Regions from separate parts of the Homo sapiens genome. Here region 2 is linked to region 1. The links are contacts of gene promoters, found by promoter capture Hi-C in blood cells and fetal thymus (Javierre and others, 2016). All regions are on one chromosome and are shown on one strand. The core of a region is centred on a gene start or on the middle of the fragment in contact, and the rest is flanking DNA. Distances in the headings are between cores, read along the strand shown.

Evidence for each region. The method cuts DNA at HindIII sites, captures the fragments that hold promoters and counts their contacts. A CHiCAGO score of 5 or more calls a contact.
Region 2: a contact is called between a fragment that was not itself captured here and the fragment with the promoter of CLRN2 in region 1, in 1 of 17 cell types (M1 macrophages). The highest score is 6.5, in M1 macrophages.

Annotation. Positions count from the first base shown.
Region 1 is chr4:17,513,021-17,517,604 of GRCh38, reverse strand. CLRN2 (clarin 2) reads right to left here and starts at 2,440. Exons shown (of 3, transcript NM_001079827.2): 1 at 2,086-2,440. The coding sequence starts at 2,338. The HindIII fragment of the contact is 967 bases long and covers 1,529-2,495 here.
Region 2 is chr4:17,795,018-17,799,733 of GRCh38, reverse strand. It overlaps a transcript of DCAF16 not described here. Among named protein-coding and RNA genes, the nearest start is that of DCAF16, 13 kb to the left of the region's middle. The HindIII fragment of the contact is 264 bases long and covers 2,252-2,515 here.

The sequences.
Region 1 (4,584 bases), core at 1,191-3,690:
AAGGCAAGAAGTACTTACTGAGTTCCTCCAAGGCTCAAACAAAATATGCATTTGTTTGCAGCTTCCTACTCGAAGCAGTTTACATTTCTGTGAGCTGGGAATGGCAGGGGTCTGGTCATTAGGTTAATGCTGGCATGTGACTGCTGTTTAATCTTCTCACCCCATTCAAGTTTCAACGATTTACCTGTTGGGGTTCAGAAACCAACACCCCTAAAATATGAAGCTTTGTGAAGAAGTCTCAAGGTCTCTCTGGCCTCCCCTCTCCCTCGTGTCTCTCCATTCTTTGTCTGTCTCATAAGCACAGGATGAGGTTGTTCTCTGACATTCCCTTACCTGCCTACATCCAGACCTACCAAAGAAAAAGACCTCTGGTCCCTTCCCTGAGTGTTCATTAATTGTACCCATATCACAGGAAGAAAGACTAAAGTCTGTTAACACAGCTGGACAGACTTTTGTCACAAACCAATGTCTGCTCTGTGGGCTCAACAGACTTTGTCCCAGCTCACTGTATGTTCTTTAAGCCCATTGAATTTCCCTAAAAATAATTTACTAGTCCCCTAAAATCATCCACACTTCCCCATCTCTCTTTCCCCTAAGATGAAGAGGATACAACCACCTGTACCCCATTGAGATAGCGGACAATCACTCTGTGATTTTTCCCCTATGCATGCTAATAAATGTGTAAGCCATTTTCCCTATTAATCTGCCTTTTGTCAGTAGATTGTTTAGAGAACCTTCAGAGTGCAAAGGGGAAGTTTTCTTGACCCCTAAAGTCCCGAAGACATCCTTTATAGCAAAGCATCTAGTTCAGAATCGAGTAGTCCATGTAGTTGTCATGGTTAGCTTTTAGCATTTCTTTTTTTTATTTGTTTATGTGTGTGTGTTTTCAAGTTTTATGTTATAATTTTGATGGAGCTATTTGTTCAATATCCAGGGTCTAATCTAATTGCTAGGTAAATATAAATATGCCCAGACATATTGATCTTGAATATACATAACAAATGTAAATTTTTGTGTGTTTAAATGATGACAATTTGTATTATATTTGTCAACGGTTCCAGCTTTTTGTCCTTATAAATTTAATACGACATTTACCTTGGCCAGATTTCTATAAACTACTACAATACTGAAATATAGAAATCAAGGAATGAATACAATTCTGTATCACCCTACATTGGCATGGTATTGATTAATTACGGTTTTGTGCAGACACTTTTCACCAGTGATCTCATCGATTCAAAAGGCTTGCAGAATATTGCCTGTTTTGTTTTTTCCTTTCCAGAAGCCCGTTCCTAAGTCCAGCTTGGATTCCTGTTTGTGCAGACTGCTCTGCTTACATCCTGGGCAGCTCTGATGCTACACTGAATGCCAGCCAAAGTCGGTGCCCGCTCACGTTCACAGAGAACAGGCAAGTGCCTTGCTTGAGGTCTCCCCACCAGTAAACTTTCCAGTAGGGGTTTCAGCCAGGGTAGTCTGATTCCAGAACCCAAGCACAGTGCCCCTTTGCATTTTCTCAGACTATGAAGCTTTTACAAAAGTAGATGTGGAAAGGGTCATCATGCTTCCCAAAGGTTCAGTTCTGCAGGCAGCCTCCACCCACTTGTTGTGGTCATGTGGCATGGGTCTGGAGTCCGGCTCTACTGTTTCCTGGCTGGGTGACCTCAGGTAAGTTATGTAACCTCTCCAAGCCTCAGTGTACTCCTCTGGAAAATGGGAACATTAACAATTCCTTCTGTATAACTTTGTTGTAAGGCTTTAAGGAGACAAGTGGCGTGAGGTGCTTACAATGTCTGACACGTGTAAACTCTCAATATTTTAATAGTCATAATTAATAGAGGTAAACTGCAAAAATGCACAAATCCTTATTTCTAATGTTTCTATACATCTCTACAGAAAAAGAAAAGGAAGCAAGGAAGGAAGGAAAGATCTTTTTGATGTGGATCCAGAACCCTTGGCTCACTGTGGACTTTGACATTATGCCTGACGTTGAGGCAGCAGCCAAATTCCACAATGAGACATAAGCACTCTTACACATTAACAAAAATGAGTGCCTAGAATCAGCTTTCATGCTCCCAATATACTCACTCGTGAATTGGGATTGGCGGCCCCCAAGCCCACACTGCCGCACTTTACACCCTCGGAAGAGCCCGTAGTAAATGTCCCCAATGAACTTGACCAGCTCTCTGTCTGTGGCGTTGACCAGATCCACTCCAGTCTGACAAAGGATTTTCCCACTCAGCCAGTGGGGCACTACCAGGGCAACGATGATCAGGATGAAGGAGGAGAAGCTGAGTAAAGACGCCAGCCCATACCACGCCTTTTTGAACCATCCAGGCATGCTAGTGGGTGCAGGTCATCCCCAAGGTCTCCGAGCAGCAGCGAGGGTCATTGACATCTTTCAGATACTCGGCAATGCTCTGCTCCAAGGTCAGCTCTTCCAAACACTCTGTTTCAAGGTTGTAGGTCCATCCTCTCGTCCTCCTTCAGCGCAAGCTTGCACAGTCCATGCTTCCTACAACCACATCCAGAAGCCTCTACAGAGACAATCTTCACCTGACTATGTAGCGGAGTGTGTTACTGAAGGAAGTAACCTTATATCTCCTCCTAGACTAATGTTTCAGCAGACTGTTTAACTGTTCCTCGTTTCAAGTATTTAAATAGCCCTGGTGTGGACCTCGTAATGATAAAGGAGTTAGTAATAAGCAAAATCAGGTAGCTCTGAAGATTAAGAGACGCAAACCAATCTCAAAAAATGCATGTGTTAGAAGGAAAACAAAAACAGAATGATTAGCACTTGAATATTGCCAACAATGCGCAGTATCAAATGTCGATCTCGCTGATGCATGGGTGCCCTGGCATTTCTTTCTCTGAAATGTCACTGCTGTCAGAATCTTTAGGACTGTTATTAATACCATCAAATGACCCCGGTTCTTGGGGCTTTAATATTGAAATGTGTAAATAGGGCCTTATGAATTTCTCACTGTGTGAATCTGCTGGGGGTAAACTGTGACTAGAATTACTTTGTGGCTGTTGGGGTAGCCTGGAATCCAACACTTAACATTGCTCTCACCCGTCCCTCCTTCTACGTTATCTGAAATGGGAGAGAAAAGTGTTTTTCTAGTGTATTAGCAAATAGTAGCCACACTGCTGGGGTATTCATCTCTTCTAATAGTGGAAGATCTAGGCTTTCCTTTTAATCTGTAGATACTAGGAATGAAATATTCTTTCCTTTCTATCTTATACTGTGGACTTTGACATTTTGACTTTTACCTTATTCCTGAATATCAACTTAACATCATGTGAGACTGGCAACAGTCACTCTATCCATATCTCTGGGGAGCAAAGTTGGGCAAAAGTGGAGCAGTAAAATTTCTTAGTTGGTCACAGAAGCCTGAAGGGGGGTTCAGGAAGTTGCACTGTTAACCAATAGGGGTCCCAGGAATCTCACTTGGAGAGTGTCAAGGAAGCAGAGGGACACATTAATGGAAATGTCAGTTTCCTTCCTCGCAACTGGGGCTCACTTCAGTGGCCACTCCACAATGAAAATAAAAATGAGAATTTCTGAGCCTGGGCAATGTAGTGAGACCTTATCTCTACAAAAAATAAAAAAAAAAAATAGTTGGGCCTGATGGCGTGTATTTGTAGTCCCAGCTACTGGAGGCTGAGGCTGGAAGACTGCTCCAGCCCAGGAGCTCAAGGCTGTAGTGAGCTATGATCATGCCACTCTGAGTAACAGAGTGAGATCCTGTCTCTTACTATATATACAGATGAGTGGCACTTTACCATGTACAAAATGCAAAATGCTTTGACCATATGCTTGCTCACCTCTGATGCTCCAGCAACCCTTTAAGGTAAACAGGAGATGCACGATTTCAGCCATTTCTCTCATGAAAAACTGGATGTCAGTGCTGGGGCTGAAATTCAGGTCTTTGAATTACAACAGCTCATCTTCATCCCAGTGACTTTGAAACAGCAAATGTTTTTCTGGTAAAAAATAACAGAATACATATAAAAGGCTCAGAAGACTGCTTGGCACATTAAGTGATCAATAATGTTAGTTCACGTTCTTATTTTAACATTAAGCATGCTTTGACAAGTCAGGACTTGCGTAAATATCATTGAGTCATATTTCTGCCGTCAGTGAGGGACCTGTGTCAACTTTTGGTGTTTTGAGGGTTAAGCAATTGTTTTCAGAAAAACTCTAAGGGAAACACTTGATTCCCAACAAGCCTTTGTCTTGCTGAACAAAGGTGTGGTTAAGTGGAACTCTAGCTATTGAAGACCTGTGTTCAAATTCCCACTCTTCCAGACAAGTGTCTGTGACTCTCATGCCTCAGCTTTCTAATCTGCATAGGATTATCGTGTGGAGTAAAGTGAAATAGCACAGGCAGATCACTTAGCGCAGTGCCTTGGATATAAGGAGCACTAAATAGATGGTGCTCTCCTCTCCATCCAGCCTCCTAGCAGTTCTATTTCTGATAATGAAGCTTCTGACAACAAAATGTGCTGCTGGCTGCATCCTCTTCTCTAGTGACATATTTCTGCATGCTTTACCTGGCACAAGTTTACTGAACAAACATCTGT
Region 2 (4,716 bases), core at 1,134-3,633, 280 kb before region 1:
CCCTCTAGGGGATAGAAGCCCTTCCTGCTGGGTCTTCTATCACACCTGTCCATATTTTAAAAAAAAAGTCTCTGATGAAAATGTTTTGATAGTGTAAATAGCTAAAGCATTTAAAGACTTTAGAAGTCACTTGGGTTATTTTCTGATGCGTAAGTTGGCTTGCATCTGGCTTTCTACTTTTGGCTCCAGTGTTAGAGAATATGTCTTTTGGAGCAGCCTGTTAGTTTTAAATATCTCTTGTTAGAAATTTAGCCATTCATCCAATATTGCTATGGAGAAGTGCCTACTCTAGTGCAGACACTGGGAATGCAAAACTAAATAAGATTACTACACATAGGAAATTAGTTTTAAAATATATGAACCTATATGTTACCCCAAGCCATTTCTGCTGTCTAGGGTCATATTAAATAAACCTAAACCCTAATCCATATGTTGGCCCTTCACATATTGAAAATAGCTTATAGTGGAGAATCATATAAAAGAATTGAATGGAGCAGCCATCCAAGTATAATGAAGATTCATCTGGAGGGCAGACTTCAATTAAACCCCCACAACGGATACTCAGCCAAGGAAATGGAGAAAATATATAGATATTTTGTATCCAGATTTAAATTATATCTGCTAATCACAAGGTAGTGGCACAAAGATCAGGGCCAAAAGTGTTTTGCTCAGGTAGCTAGGACATATAGAACAGCCTGAGAAGTATGGATAACTTCTCAGACTTCATGAGTTAACTGTGCAAGCTGGTAACGTATCTGTCCGCCAGTGATACCCATTGGACTGAGGGAGTTACATTAGCTGGACCAACCACCAGTACTTCTATGTCAACTTGCTGTTGCTAAAAGAAAAATGTCTATGATGTGTCTCAAATAATTTTAAATACAGTTGAGTTAATGACTACATATTTGAGTCTGCTAATTCCATGCAGTTTGCCAAGCTCTTCCTTTCAATTAGCAGCCGCAGTGAGACTTAAGTTTGCAACTGAGACCAAGAAATGGAAAGGATGAGGATATACCACAGTGACCTGACACTTGCTGGCTTCCCATCTTCTGTGAGAGCTATGACCAGCTATTCTCAATGAGCTCTGGAAAATGAATGCCTGGTTTTCTTTTATTATTATTATTATTTTTTTATTTTTTTGACACAGGGTTTCGCTCTTGCCTAGGCTGGAGTGCAGGGGCATAATCTTGGCTCACCGCAGCCTCGACCTCCTGGGCTCAAGCCATCCTCCCACCTCAGCCTCATCAGTAGCTGTGGACTACAGGTGCACACCACCACACAGGCCAATTTTTGTATTTCTTTGTAGAGGCAGTTTCACTCAGGCTGGTCAGGAACTCCTGAGCTCAAGTGATCCTCCCACATCAGCCTCCCAAAGTGCTGGTGTTACACTGGTACCTGGTATAAAAAAAAAAAAAAAAAAAAAGGAAAATAACAGTGTAACAGGAAGACAGCGATAGGGTTATTTCTTCTAAACTGTGGAGTCAGTTAAAAACGTTAGCAACAGTTTCAAGTTGAATCATAAAACGAAGTTGACTGGAATTTGGGCAGTTTATTTAGGAAGATTCTGACACGTGATATGAAAATTCCTGGGATCATTAGGGGAGTTAGGCTCTATATAACAACAATCATTCAGGAGGGACTCAGGATACTGGTTAGCTTAACAAGATTAAAACTGACTTCCTAGTATACACATAAACCAAGCTAGTTTCTCAAATTAGCAACAGAAACCAGATGAAACTCCTCAAATGAGTGTTGCAAAATAAGGAGCTGGTACTATAGTTTTATTTGGGGAGAAATTGTTAAGTTTGGGTTAACTGCTCAGCCTATGCCTGATACTACCCTTCCATCTATGGTATCAGCTGTGGCACCTGACACTCCAATGTATCAGCTGATGGTTTTGGTTTACAATAAATTAATTAAGCAATGGACCAGTAGGGGCAACTTCTTTGAGAGGTACCCAAACAAGTGGAACAGCCCAAGGGCATGGCCATCTTCCATCAAAAAAGACCCTAGGTGGGCTTTCTGGTTGCACCCTGAGTAACCAGAATGGCCTGATAGACTGGCAGAGCTCTGGTGAAAGAAGGGTGCAGCCACTACCTGAAGAACTCTAATTTCTGAATCAATTGAAAGCTGGCATTAATGTTGGCCACAGACAATGCATTCCATGTAGACTTACTGCAAAGTGTGTTATATGATATTGATCCCTGTCTACCTACTTGGTACTTAAGTAGACTCCCATGGCTTGAAAGCTTTGGACCAGACCCCAGTTTCCTTCTTTGAATGCAGTTTTTCTGTGTTGTCACATCCTACTTGGGACACGTTTCTTTAAATGGGTTGGGTTGCCTGATGTAGCAAAAAGAAATACAGGACACCCGAATACATTTGAATTTCAGAAAAATAATGAAATATGGCACATATACCAGAAAAAAAGTTATGTTATTTATCTGAAATTCAAATTTAGTTTCCTGCATTTTATCTGCAACCCTATAAATATGTTAGTGGCATGGATTAAGCTTGGGTTTTAGTCTATGTAGTTGTTCCCAGGAACTGTCTTGACTCTTTCCAGTATGTGTTGTTTTCTTATGTCTAAGTAATTGACTAGTAGCCAGGAGCAGTGCTGGTGCACACCCGTAGTCCTAGCTACTCAGGAGGCTAAATTGGGAGGATTGCTTGAGCTGAGGAGTTTGAGGTTGCAGTGGGTTATGGTCATGCCACTGCACTCCAACATGGGCACCAGAGCAACCGCCCATCTCTAAAATAATAATATTTAATAATAAGAGACTGGGGGCAAGGAAGGCTCACACATAGTTGACCCAAGTTGTATTTCTTATATATTTATTTATTTATTTCTTAGAACTGTTGTTGAGTGTCAGAAGAGGAGGCCCAATTGCAGATATGAGAGTTTTTATAGGAGACACGTGGTATTTAGCTAAAATAACCACATAACCATTACAATATTTGCAAACACAAATTTTTTAAATGCTGTCTCAACAGCAGGTAGTTTGGGTTTGTGGTTTGTTGTCGTTGTGAGATGGAGACTCACCCTGTCGCCAGGCTGGAACGCAGTGGTGCGATCTCGGCTCACTGCAATCTCCACCTCCTGTGTTCAAGCAATTTCCCTGCCTTGGCCTCCTGAGTAGCTGGGACTACAGGTGCGCACCACCATGCCCAGCTAATTTTTTGTATTTTAGTAGAGATGGTTTCACCATGTTGGCCAGGATGGTCTCAATCTCCTGACCTCATGATCCACCCACCTGAGCCTCCCAAAGTGCTGGAATTACAGGCGTGAGCCACCGCACCTGGCCATCTGTGTGTGTTTTAAGCAGTTACTTTCTCACTCTTCTTTACCATGAAGGGAAAGTATATCACTCTTTAAAAACAAAAAATACTCGATAGGTAGCACAGTTATGATACCCATTCTTCATCACAGAAAAGGTTCACAAATTTGGAACACCTATCTTTGCCTTCCAGAACCCCCAAAAGACTTGAGGATTTAAAGGCACAAGGTACCCTGGAAGGTGGGAGTAATAAAGAAAGTTGAAACAAGGGGATTATTTGAACATTTATTTTTGCTCTTCTTTTGTAGGCAGGCAGCTATCTCTCTAGCAGATGACTGAAGCCTTATTGTCTGGAGAAATTAAACCAAACAGACTTAGAACTGAGGACAGGGGGAGGATGGTAATGGTAGTGATGTGCTATATGGAAGACAAAATGATTAACAGAATGTGAGTATTCTGAACATTATGAGCCTCCAGTCCACTTTTCTCCACCTGGCTACAGAATCTGGCAATGGGGCTTATACCCAGCCCTGCTCACCTGACCGAAAAAGACAAGCAGTAAAAAAACAGCTTGACCCTCGATTATTTGTTACAGTGAAACTGAGAGTCCACAAGGCCTGCTCCTTCATATACAGCTTTCAGTCACTTGGAATCACTGTACACAGATAGCCAAGGATCACTAGATATTTGAGGAAACCTTCAACATGAAAGATGAACATAAAGAAGCTGTGATATTCTCAGAAAGGAATATACTGCTTCCATCAAATAGGATCAGGATGCTATTTTAAAAAATGACCAATCCAAAAACAAAAGCTATTGGAAAAACAGGAAACCAAAAGTAAACATTCAGTAGATGTATTAGAAAATAACTTGAAGAAATTTTAAAAAGTAGAACAAAGAGATGAAAAGCAGGCAAGAACAAAAAAGAAACTTAAACCTGAATAAGATGCAACATCTAATAAATGAGTTCCAAAATGAGAGAACAGAGAAAGAAGGTGAAGAGAGAAAAAAATTAAAATAACATTTCCCGGAAATAATAAGACTTTAGTCTTCTAAATTAAAAGGGTCCACTAAGTGCCCTGTGAAATGAATTAAAAAATACCAAAGCACATTGTTAGGATATTTCAGAATGCTAGAGTTATGGAAGGACCTAAAAGCTTCCCAATAAATGTAGCGGAGAAAGTTACATAAAAAGGATACGTTTTCAAAATGGCATTTAGATTTCTTGGTAGCAACACTGGATGCGGAAAGACTATGAAAGCAAGGTCTTTAAATTTAAAAAGAAATGATTTCCAACGCAGAATTTTGTACTCAAATAATCCAATCAAGAGTGGGGCTAAAATAAAGATACCTTAAGACTTGCATGGTCTCAGAATTTTATCTCACCATCTACCTTTTCTTAGGAAGCCACTTGGAGGATGTGCTTTACCAAAATGAG